Linked DNA regions of Homo sapiens: region 2 is linked to region 1. The links are contacts of gene promoters, found by promoter capture Hi-C in blood cells and fetal thymus (Javierre and others, 2016). All regions are on one chromosome and are shown on one strand. The core of a region is centred on a gene start or on the middle of the fragment in contact, and the rest is flanking DNA. Distances in the headings are between cores, read along the strand shown. Region 1 holds the start of BORCS6 (BLOC-1 related complex subunit 6). Region 2 overlaps PIK3R5 (phosphoinositide-3-kinase regulatory subunit 5).

What was found. The method cuts DNA at HindIII sites, captures the fragments that hold promoters and counts their contacts. A CHiCAGO score of 5 or more calls a contact.
Region 2: a fragment that was not itself captured here is called in contact with the fragment with the promoter of BORCS6 in region 1 in 1 of 17 cell types (naive CD8 T cells); the score reaches 5.0 in naive CD8 T cells.

Annotation. Positions count from the first base shown.
Region 1 is chr17:8,186,023-8,191,524 of GRCh38, reverse strand. BORCS6 (BLOC-1 related complex subunit 6) reads left to right here and starts at 1,345. Exons shown (of 1, transcript NM_017622.3): 1 at 1,345-3,180. The coding sequence starts at 1,385. The coding sequence ends at 2,458. LOC124903913 (a long non-coding RNA gene) reads left to right here. Exons shown (of 2, transcript XR_007065604.1): 2 at 1-250. TRW-CCA3-3 (tRNA-Trp (anticodon CCA) 3-3) reads right to left here and starts at 5,167; the gene lies at 5,096-5,167. It overlaps TRS-GCT4-3 (tRNA-Ser (anticodon GCT) 4-3), which reads right to left and starts at 4,659; the gene lies at 4,578-4,659. It also overlaps MIR4521, TRT-AGT1-1 and TRI-AAT5-5. RefSeq lists enhancers at 886-1,531, 1,274-1,553, 1,532-2,178, 3,317-3,366, 4,797-4,906 and silencers at 1,664-1,713, 1,914-1,973, 2,044-2,093, 4,227-4,336, 4,587-4,636 and 1 more. The HindIII fragment of the contact is 3,696 bases long and covers 254-3,949 here.
Region 2 is chr17:8,948,546-8,953,515 of GRCh38, reverse strand. The region is part of intron 1 of PIK3R5 (phosphoinositide-3-kinase regulatory subunit 5); the gene reads left to right. Among named protein-coding and RNA genes, the nearest start is that of PIK3R5, 15 kb to the left of the region's middle. The HindIII fragment of the contact is 2,759 bases long and covers 1,787-4,545 here.

The sequences.
Region 1 (5,502 bases), core at 96-2,595:
ACATGGTGAAACCCCATCTCTACTAAAAATACAAAATTAGCCGGGCGTGGTGGCGGGCGCTTGTAATCCCAGCTACCCGGGAGACTGAGTTAGGAGAATCGCGTGAACCCAGGAGGCGGAGGTTGCAGTGAGCCGAGATCGCGCCACTGCACTCCAGCCTGGGTGACGGAGTGGGACTCTGTCTCTAAATACATAAATAAATAAATAAATAAATAAATAAATAAATAAATAAAAATACTGATGTCTCCAAGCTTTGGCTATGTGTTGCAATGTACAACCTTTCCAATGTCGCTGCACCATTGCATTTAGAGGAAATCTCCATTCCCTAACAGGAACTACAAGGCCCCCTGCATGACGTGGCCCCTGCTGCCTGTTCAGCTCCTTGGCTCGAAATCCTTCCCCTTATCTTGCTGATTTTGTTTTAGTCCCAATGTCTCCTGCCCCCTCACCTCAGTTTCTTGAATACGTCAAGACTTCTTTGTCTCTGAGAGGTAGCTCAAGTTTTCTTCTCTCTGCCTGGGGGGTGGCTGCGTCTTTTTGGTTCTTTTTAGTTAAAAGTCTCACCAAAGAGGTATTTTCCTGACCCCTTACCTAAACTAGTGCCTGCTCAGTTATATTCTCAATCATAACACTTTATTTCCTGTATAGCACATATCAAAATTTGTGATCATTTCATTTGTTGAATATTTTACCTCGTGGCAAAATCACACGCCATCCTCCAAGGGGCGAGACCCCTCAGTGTGAAAGGGGCAAGAGACACAGAACAAGAGTGACAAACGCATAGGAAAGCCCAGAGGCCGCTGCCTTGACCACAGTGGGTCGCTCTGAGCAGTTCAGTGGTTAGGTCTCTTAACCAAGAAAGATAGAGCAAACCATTCATGCTCATGCTGGACTTCTGGTTTCCTTCTTTTTAGTCAACTAGGTTCAACCCTGATGGTCCAAGAAGGATATGCCATTTTCATCCTAAGAACCTCTCTAGGAACCCCAAGTGGGCTCCCCACTTGGTATTTTTGCTAAGCAATCACTGTTGGGGGGGGTACAATTACAGGCAGAAAGGATCTGAGCCCCACCCCTCGGGACTCAGGAATTTGAGGACCTTGGTCTTTAAGATCTGCCCCATCAGCTTTCAGAAAGGGCGGGGCGACGGGAGCAGCTGTCACCTCCTTCTCTCCACCCTGCCGGCGTTCACGTGTGTTCCGCTGTGCAGTAACAGCTCTTCTTCCGGGACTTCCTGGTCGCCGCGACCAATCAAAATGCTTTTCCTGTCCTTACCATTGTCAGCCGCTGCCAATCGGCTCGCCTCTACCAACGCCCCTTAAAGGCGCAGCCACTGCCTCCGGAGCCGGGGCGAACCAATTCCTCCGTTGCGGCCCCCACCTGCAGTATGGAGTCGTCTCGGGGGCGGCCCGGGCCCGAGACGGACCTTCTGGCTGTAGCGGAACATCAGGCCCTAGTCTTTGGCGGCGGGCCGGGCCGAACGTCCTCTGAGCCGCCCGCAGGCCTCCGGGTGTCCGGGGAGGAAGAGACCGAGAACGTTGGGGGCGCGAACCGCCACCCCAGGACGTCCCCGAAGACGTCAAGCTGCGGCGTCGTCCACCGGCCGGAACGGGAGGCTCTGGAGAACGAGCCCGGCCCTCAAGGGACGCTGTCTGGGGCCGGGAGCCGCAGGGGGGCGCCGGGTGCAGAGCACGAACCTTCCCTGTCCTCCCGGCACAAGAACCCGGCGCCGCCCGAGGGCAAGCCCTCCTCCGGGAGGGACTGCCGTCGAGGGGGACCAGGCGGCGGGATGGATGTTGAGCAGCAGGAGGAGGAAGACAACGACGAGGAGGCGGCCGCGGGCAGCAGAGCCGGCCGCTCGTTCTCCAGCCGTCTTCAGGACAGCCGCAGCCTGGACGGGCTGAGCGAGGCGTGCGGTGGCGCCGGGTCCTCAGGGAGTGCCGAGTCCGGCGCGGGCGGCGGACGCCGCGCCACCATCTCCAGTCCCCTGGAGCTCGAAGGCACAGTGAGCCGCCACGGCGACCTTACCCACTTTGTCGCCAACAACCTGCAACTCAAGATCCGTCTGAGCGGCGCGCCTCCACCCCCGCCTTCTGCCCCTGCGCGGCCCTGCCCAGCGCCTGCACCCACACCCACACCGGCCATTCCCCCAATCGACCCCGAGGTGCTGCGGGATCTGGAGCGGTTGAGTCGGGAGCTGGGAGGCCGGGTGGACCGTCTGCTTCGCGGTCTGGGTGGCGCGGTGCAGGAGCTGACGGCGCTGAGCGTGGGTTGCATCCAGACCTACCGCGATGCTGTGGACTCCTTAGGTGAAGCCGTGGACATGAGCATCAAGGGCATGTACACCCTGCTGGCGCGCTGCGAGGAGCTGGAGCGGGCTCTGCAGCCGGTTCAGGGGCTGGCGCGCCAAGTCCGGGATATCCGACGTACTCTGGAGGTGTTGGAGGCCCTGTGCAAGTGACCAGGAGGACAGGAGAGGCCGGTCCTGGCCAGGGCAGGGCCCAGCAGGACCCTAAGGACTCTTCAGGGAGTCCTGGTGGGAAGTGCCCACTGAGGGGAGGCCTGTGTGTTGGAGGCTCTTCCAGATGCGTTCAGCTGGCCCGTGCCCACTCGCTGGGCCTTAGGCTGGTGTATGTGGGGAAGTTCTAACGGCTCTCCTGGTGGGAAGGGATGTTGCTCTGCTTGTATTCAGTTGGCCATCTGTAGCTACCCTGTTCTTCCCAACTCTCCTCCCTAGCTAGAGCACCAGCCCTGGGAACACGGGGCTTTAGGTCTGCTTGAAGGTGAGGACGTGACTCCCACATGTAATCAGGAGAAAGGGACAGAGGAAGCCCCAGCCCCCACTGTGGCTATCCTGACTCCAGTGGCCACATCTCAGGTGCCAGGGGCTGTGGGAGCTTGTGCCGTCCTTGGCCAAACACCCCGCAGGCAAAGATGCACCCCTGCTGATGGAGAGCCTTCTGCTTCTGCCCTCTGGCCCTCTACCATACCACTTCCCCAGCCAGAACCGGCGTGCAGCTAGGAGGAATGGGTTGCACGGCGGAGGGGGTGAGGTGGGAGGCGTCTCACTGCTCTCAGGGTTCAGGTAGAATGTTGCTGGTTTTGAAGCTCACCTGTTGTGGAGTGTTCTAATCAGTTTTGGCTTTCTGAGTTTTTGTGGAATTAAAGTGCTGCTGCTGCGAAGGCTGAGGCTGAGTCTGTGTGGGGTTGCAGTGATTAATAAGCCAAAGGAATGGGAATGAGGGTCGGTGTTGTTCACGCAGCTCCCTTGGGGCTGGTGCTGGGAGTGGGGTGGGGGTGGAGATGTCTCAGGCTCCGTGGGGAAAGATATGGTTCTTGCTCTTAAGCATCTGGTCTGAGGGGAAATGTGAGGACACAGATAATCACTCACAGGGGCCCAGAGATCCGGTAACCACAGAAACGTAAAAAAGATGCTCTAGAAGAGAAGGGGAAGAAATTGTCTTCTCAGGTCCTCATGAATAGGCAGGGGCTGGGTGGATTGGACGGACATCTTACCTCTGGGGGAAGACTGGGAACACTTGTCAGCTCTATTCCTGACCATTTCCCACACTCTGCAGATCAGTGCCACGTGGTTTGAGACAAATTTGTCCCAAAGCCTTTTGTTTACAGTTCACACAGTAAGTTCAGGAGCCATATATTGTGGCCATAAGATGTAGAAGCAAAGATCACGAAACAACCCCGGTTTCTCTCAATCCCTTCCTCTCAAGACACGCCCACTTTAGAATGCGCTCCAATACGCTCCCTGTTCTGGGATTGGAAATGTGGCGCTGTTTTTCCCCAGAGACGTTACTTGGCTCTAAAACGGAGTGCAGTAATCGTACTTTCGAAAAGTTTCAATCCTGGCCCGTACGGGGATCGAACCCGCGACCTTGGCGTTATTAGCACCACGCTCTAACCAACTGAGCTAACCGGCCAGTTGCTACGAAAAGCTTGAAATAAATCTATTTAGTTACAATACTGTTCAGTTCTCTCGGGAAAAACCTTCAGTTGTGGGACTGCTTTATGAGAAATGAAAACAGAACACAAACACTGACTAACTGAGCACCTAGACGAGTAACAGACAGTACTGGCAAGTACAGATGATGCGACTGGTGTAACTGCAGGTCGAGGCGCAAGTACCATGTGCACGAAGAGCAAAAACCCAACAGCGTGTGGCAGATGCACCGGGAGAGGATAGATGGGTACGTGAGTAAACCATGTAGGATGGAAGTTATGAGTTTCTGCAACTGTCCTCACAATGTTTAATGTTGGCAAAAGCGTGGGGGAAACACGGAGGCACCGCTGGGATTCGAACCCAGGATCTCCTGTTTACTAGACAGGCGCTTTAACCAACTAAGCCACGGCGCCGCCGGAAAGACGCTTAGGATCTTGTTTCCTTGGCCAGGTCAGCTGAATTGCAGAGAATGAATACAAAGATGTCACAAAAAGTCGGCTGCATACGAAAATGAGGAAAGGATGGATGCAGCTGGGAAAGACACGAAAACTGAATGGAGTGACTGGGGGTAACAAGAGAAATCCTAGTTTTGATGCTACAAAACTGAGCACAGGACTTCCTTAGCCGACGAGGATGGGATTCGAACCCACGCGTGCAGAGCACAATGGATTAGCAGTCCATCGCCTTAACCACTCGGCCACCTCGTCTGCAGACAGCCCTCGCTGTTCAGACTGCCCTCCGCATCTCACTTCTCTGGAACCTGAACTTCCTGCAGGTGGGGCTCGCCTACGTCGTGAAGGCTGCACATTTGGAAGGAATCCGCTCGGCACTGGAAAGAGAACTCGTAGATCAGAGACCGACTTCTTCCATGCGTGATGGCCCGACCCTCGTCCCTCTGCTGAGAGGTCTAGAACTGCTCCTGTCTTAGGACCCGCGTTATCCGCCCAGAATTACGGTACCCGGATCCATCGCAAAAATCCCCGCGCGATGGTTGGGCTGTCCAGACGGGGCGGCCTTGGAACTTCCAGAAACCCCTCTCCTTCAGGCCCCAAGGAGATATTGCTTCTTCAATGACCTGAACGCTGAAGCTCGACCGTAGTTTAAAATAAAGGGGGTTAATAAAAACCGAAGAAAAATAGCCGCTGACCCCGACGTGATTTGAACACGCAACCTTCTGATCTGGAGTCAGACGCGCTACCGTTGCGCCACGAGGTCGGCCGGCCACTCGGCAGCTCAGGTCTCCCCATGACCACTGTGCGCCCTGGAGGCCAGGGTCATGAATCGAGGCATGGATGGGCACCTAGGGCATTTCTGCCCCTCTGAACAGCTGCGGGGTCGTATCTGCGCTCGCCGAGCCAGCCCTGTAGGACGAGCCGGGCGAGTGGCACCCCAGGGCAGTGACTATGGGATCCAGGCTTAGCGGTCTGTCCCTCCCGGCCCCCGGCGTCCTGCCAACGCCCAGATAGAGGGTCCCGAGCTGATCGCCAGGGGATCCCAAAGCTTACAGCCCAGTGGGGACGGACCTGCCTAGAAACGGATGGAAGGATGGG
Region 2 (4,970 bases), core at 1,917-4,416, 760 kb before region 1:
AGCCTGTGGGTCACGGTGCTATGATAGCTGTTGGTGTGAGGGGATTTGCTTTACTGTGCAAAACAAGAGAAAAATAAGGGTGTGGCCCTTTAAAGAACTTGCTAATAAAAACCTCCCACTTGAGAGAGGCAGAGCTTGGCCTAAAGGGTGGGGTTGAGGAGGGAGATGATGGGTGGAGTTGAACAAGGACTAGCCTTATGTAAGCATCAAGAAAACACATTTCTGAACTAGTGAGGCTAAGTAGCTCAGGTCCAAGGCATGTGAGACATTTGGGAGTTGGTTCAGAAGGCTGTTCTAGAGGGTACTTGAGTTGCCTAGCAGATAGATGGTGGGGACTTGTGGAAGTTGATGGAAGCAAGCCCTCAATGCTGGACCATGTAATGGGTGCAATGAATAAAGAAGGAGGCGTCCAACTTCCCATTCCCTCATTCTCCCAACTGTGGTCCAAGGCACTGTGCTATTACAGTCCAGCACTCTCCTCTGAGATAGATGTAGCTGGTCAAGAATGCTCCTTCTTGGACCATGGCTCAACTCTGCCAGGTTCCCATCAAGGCTCCTGTCCAGGGGCTGTTGAAGGGATTGGGTTGCAGCCATGGTAATCATATGATAACGGCCACAGTTGCAACTTGGGTCCAGAGCTCAGTGGCCTCAGAGGGTCCCATCTCCCCTCCTCCCCCTACCTTTCCTGCATTTTCAAAGCTGCAGGCTTACTTCTCGTTGGCTGTGTTACTCCGAAGATCTGCTCAGTAGATGGAGGTGAAAATGTTATTTTTCACTAAAATATCTGACCTTGTTTAAGGAGAAAAAATTTTGTAATAATGCCCATAATTTATTCTCATGGTACTTTATTGACCAGTAAGAGATTACCCCTAATTCATTTATAAAAATATTACTCTCTCGACTTAAGTCGCTTCAATACTAACTGGCCAGCCCAGTTTGCTCCAATGAGTGTCTGGCCTTTAAATAGCTCAATCCCTGCTGCTCTCCCTAGAGTAGGACACACAGAGGTGGGGACTCCATGTAGAAAACCTGTGCTCCAGAAGTCATGTCTGTAGGATGACTTCACCTTTTATGAGGTGTCTCTATCAAGGAAATTTTGGGTATACCGTGTGGTCTTTAAGTCAGACCATAAACCATATTCTACAAATTCAGGGGAAATCCACCAGCTGTAACTAAATGGCATAGTAACAGAAAAACAAAAACATCATTTCTCTTATTAGGTAACTCAGCATTCACTGAAATATTAGTTGGTCTACTGGTTTCTCTGTTGGATTGGAGAGACCCAAAATAATAGTGGCTTAAACAAGATAGAGGTTTATTTCTGTCTCAGGTAGCAAGCTGGGCATAAGTGATCCAGACTTCACATGACAGCTTTATAGGTTGGGAACCAAGGTTCCTTTTGTGTCATTGCTCTGCCTTCTTCAACATGTAGCTCTCATCTCATGGTCCATAATGGCTGCTCTAGCAATTGCCATCGCATCTGCATTCCAGCTAGCAAGAAGGGGAAAGGGGGAAGGGAAGTGCATGCCTCTTCCTTCTAAAAGCATGACTTGGAAATTGCACTTATCAATGTCTATTCATATTCCAGTAGCCAGAATGTAGTCATATGGTCATACTTAGTTACAAGAGTCTGGGAAACGTGATCTAAAATTCCTAAAAGTTATATCCCCATAGAAGGAAGGAGAATAGATATGGAAGAACAATTTTGAGTCTCATCCACATTTGAACTTTGTGAATCTTCACTGTTACATAGATGTTCTTTATCCCTTCTGTTGTGGAGTAAGCTTGCCTCCTAAGCCCTGCTGAAAACTATTAATAAAAAACAGCATGCTACACCAAAAGGTCAAACTAACCCAAATGTCCATTAATGGATAAATGGATAAACAAAATGTGTATATACATTCAATTGAATATTATTGATCCTTAAAAAGGAATGAGGTTCAAACACATGCTACGATATGCATGAACCTTGAAGACATTATGCTAAGTGAAGTAAGCCAGACACAAAAGGATAAATACTGTGTGATTCCACCCAAATGAGGTAGCTAGAGTAAACTCATAGAAACAGAAAGTAGATTAGAGGTTACCAGAGGCTGGGGGGAGAAGTGGCGGGGAGTTAGTGTTTATTGGGTATGGAGTTTCAGTTTAGGAAGACGAAAAAGTTCTGTGAATGGATGGTGGGGATGGTTGCACAACATTGTGAATGTACTTAATGTCACTGAACTGTATACTTAGAACTGTACGCACAAAACTGTACACACACAACCTACAGAATGGGAGAAAATATTTGCAGACTATGCATCTGTCAAAGGTCTAATATCCAGAGTCTATAAGGAACTTAAACAAATCAACAAGCCAAAACCAAATAACCCCATTTAAAAACAGGCAAAGGACATGAACAGACACTTCTCAAAAGAAGACGTACAAATGGTCAACACACATATCAAAGATAATGCTCATTATCACTGATTATGAGGGAAATGCAAATCAAAACCTTAACAAGATACCATCTCGCACCAGTCAGAATGGCCACTATTGAAAAGCCAAAAAACAACAGATGCTGGCGAGGCTGTGGAGAGAAGGGAACACTTACACATTGTTGGTGGGAGCGTAAATTAGTTCAACCACTATAGAAAGCAGTTTGGAGATTTCTCAAAGAACTTAAAACAGAGCCACCATTTGACCCAGTGATCTCATTACTGGGTATATTCCCAAAGGAAAATAGCTCATTATACCAACAAGACACATGTACTCACATGTGTTCATCACCCCACTATTCACAATAGCAAAGACATGGAATCAACCTAGGTGCCCATTGATGGTAGATTGGATAAAGAAAATGTTCTACATATAAACCATGAAATACTATGCAGCCGTAAAAAAGAATGAAGTCATGTCCTTTGCAGCAACATGGATGGAGCTGGAGGCCATAATCCTAAGCAAATTAATGTAGGAATGGAAAACCAAATACCATATGTTCTCTCTTACAAGTAGGAGCTAAACACTGAGCACAAGTAGACATAAACATGGGAGCAATAGACATTGTGGACTCTCAGTGGGGAGAGAGGGAAGGGTGAGGATTGAAAAACCTCCTATTGAGTACTGTGCTCACTACCTGGATGCAATATACCCATATAACAAACCTGCACCTGTATCTAACATAAAAGTTGGAATTAAAAAAATACTTACAATCGTAAATTTTATATTGCATATATTTTACCACAATCATGCTATAAAGGACCAAAGGCAGGGTTCTCTGGCATTTTAGGAGCAATGTCCCTACAGATGAAGCTACTCAACACCCTTTGGGTGAGGTTATGAAGCCAGTAATGAATCCATCTATCTGTGTTATCATTCGTATTTTTTACATCATCATGAAACTATATAGCAAGACTTGCTCAAATTCAGATATGCTGCTATTGTGGCTGTTCTTCTATTACCTCTTTAGTCAGTGAATCCATTGATCCCTATTGGCTGCTGGTGGTTCCTGGATCTTTCCCTTAGCATTCACAAACTGTCTTTTAATAATGTATAGAGAATGTTGCCAGGGGACTGGTGGACTCAGACATGTACTTTAAAAAATTCCACTTAAAAAAATTGTTTTTAAATTTTTATTTTCATAGATTTTTGGGGAACAGGTAGTATTTGGTTACGTGAGTAAGTTCTTTAGAGGTGACTTGTGAGATTTTGGTGCAGTGTACGTTGTACCTAATGTGTAGCCTTTTATCCCTCACCCACTTCCCACCTTTCCCCTGCTAAGTCCCCAAAATCCATTGTATCATTCTTATGCCTTTGCATCCGTATAGCTTAGCTCCCACTTATGAGTCAGAACATATGATGTTCGGTTTTCCATTCCTGAGTTACTTCACTTAGAATAATAGTGTCCAATCCTATTCAGGTTGCTGCAAATGCCATTACAGAATTCTCCCTTTCTTTTTCTGTTCCTCACGATGACGACAACATTTTCTAATCTGTCTCTGTCTTTCTCTGTCTCTGTCTCTTATACATCTTTCATTTTCTCTGATTCTTCAAAGATAATCGGTAGCAGCTCCCTTTCACAACCTCAAGTTTCTTTATGACTCTGAGATGCCTTTATTCTCTTCTGCAATCCTAAACTCATTTTCAGCAGCAAGCCTCCCTATTTGGCATCAGATGTTTCAATATCGGACCCTTTCCCCGCAATCTACCTTTCACCCTGTGGCTGGTACAACCTTCCAAATCCAAAAGCTGATGTGTCATTCACCAGCTCGAAATTTAGCAGTGGCTCCACATGGCGCTTGAGTAAACCCTTAAGCACTTAGCTTGGCAGATAAGGCTGTTCACAGTCTACCATGCCAGCCCATGCAGCATCATCTCCCAGCGTGCCCCATGTCATGCCTACCCTTCAGTAGGGCTGAACTGCCAGCATTTCCCTAAAGGAACCATGCTGTCTCCCGCCTCTTGCCTCAGTTTATTTTCCTACCATGAGATTCATGCCTGAATCTCACCCAGGGCAGCTCCTCCTTCCTGAAATGTTATCTCGGGAGTCACCTTTTTGGAGAAGCTTTGCTAATAGACATTCTCCCTCCTCCAAGTTCCTATGGCACCTGTCCCATATTAGCCTCCACTGGGACACCTAACCCACTGGGTAGTTTCTAGTTTGAGAGTTATTTTGGATGGTGCTTCTCTGAACTTCCTGTTGCATGTCCACTGGGCATGTAGCTAGGAGGCATATACCTGGGGCCTGGAGCATGCTGAAGTTGAGCTTTAGGGTCTGATAGAGCATCTTCCACTGGGTATGTTGTCGTACCAGCGTACATTCCCCGCAGCAGCCGTGAGGGTTTGCGTGGCTTCACATCCTCACAACAGTGCTTTTTTTTGCCTTTTTCATTTTGGCCCTTCTGCTGGGTGTGTAGTGGTATTGCCTTGTGGTGGGAATGTGCACTTCCCTTCTGACTAATGAAGCGGAGCACCTCTCCACATGTTTAGTG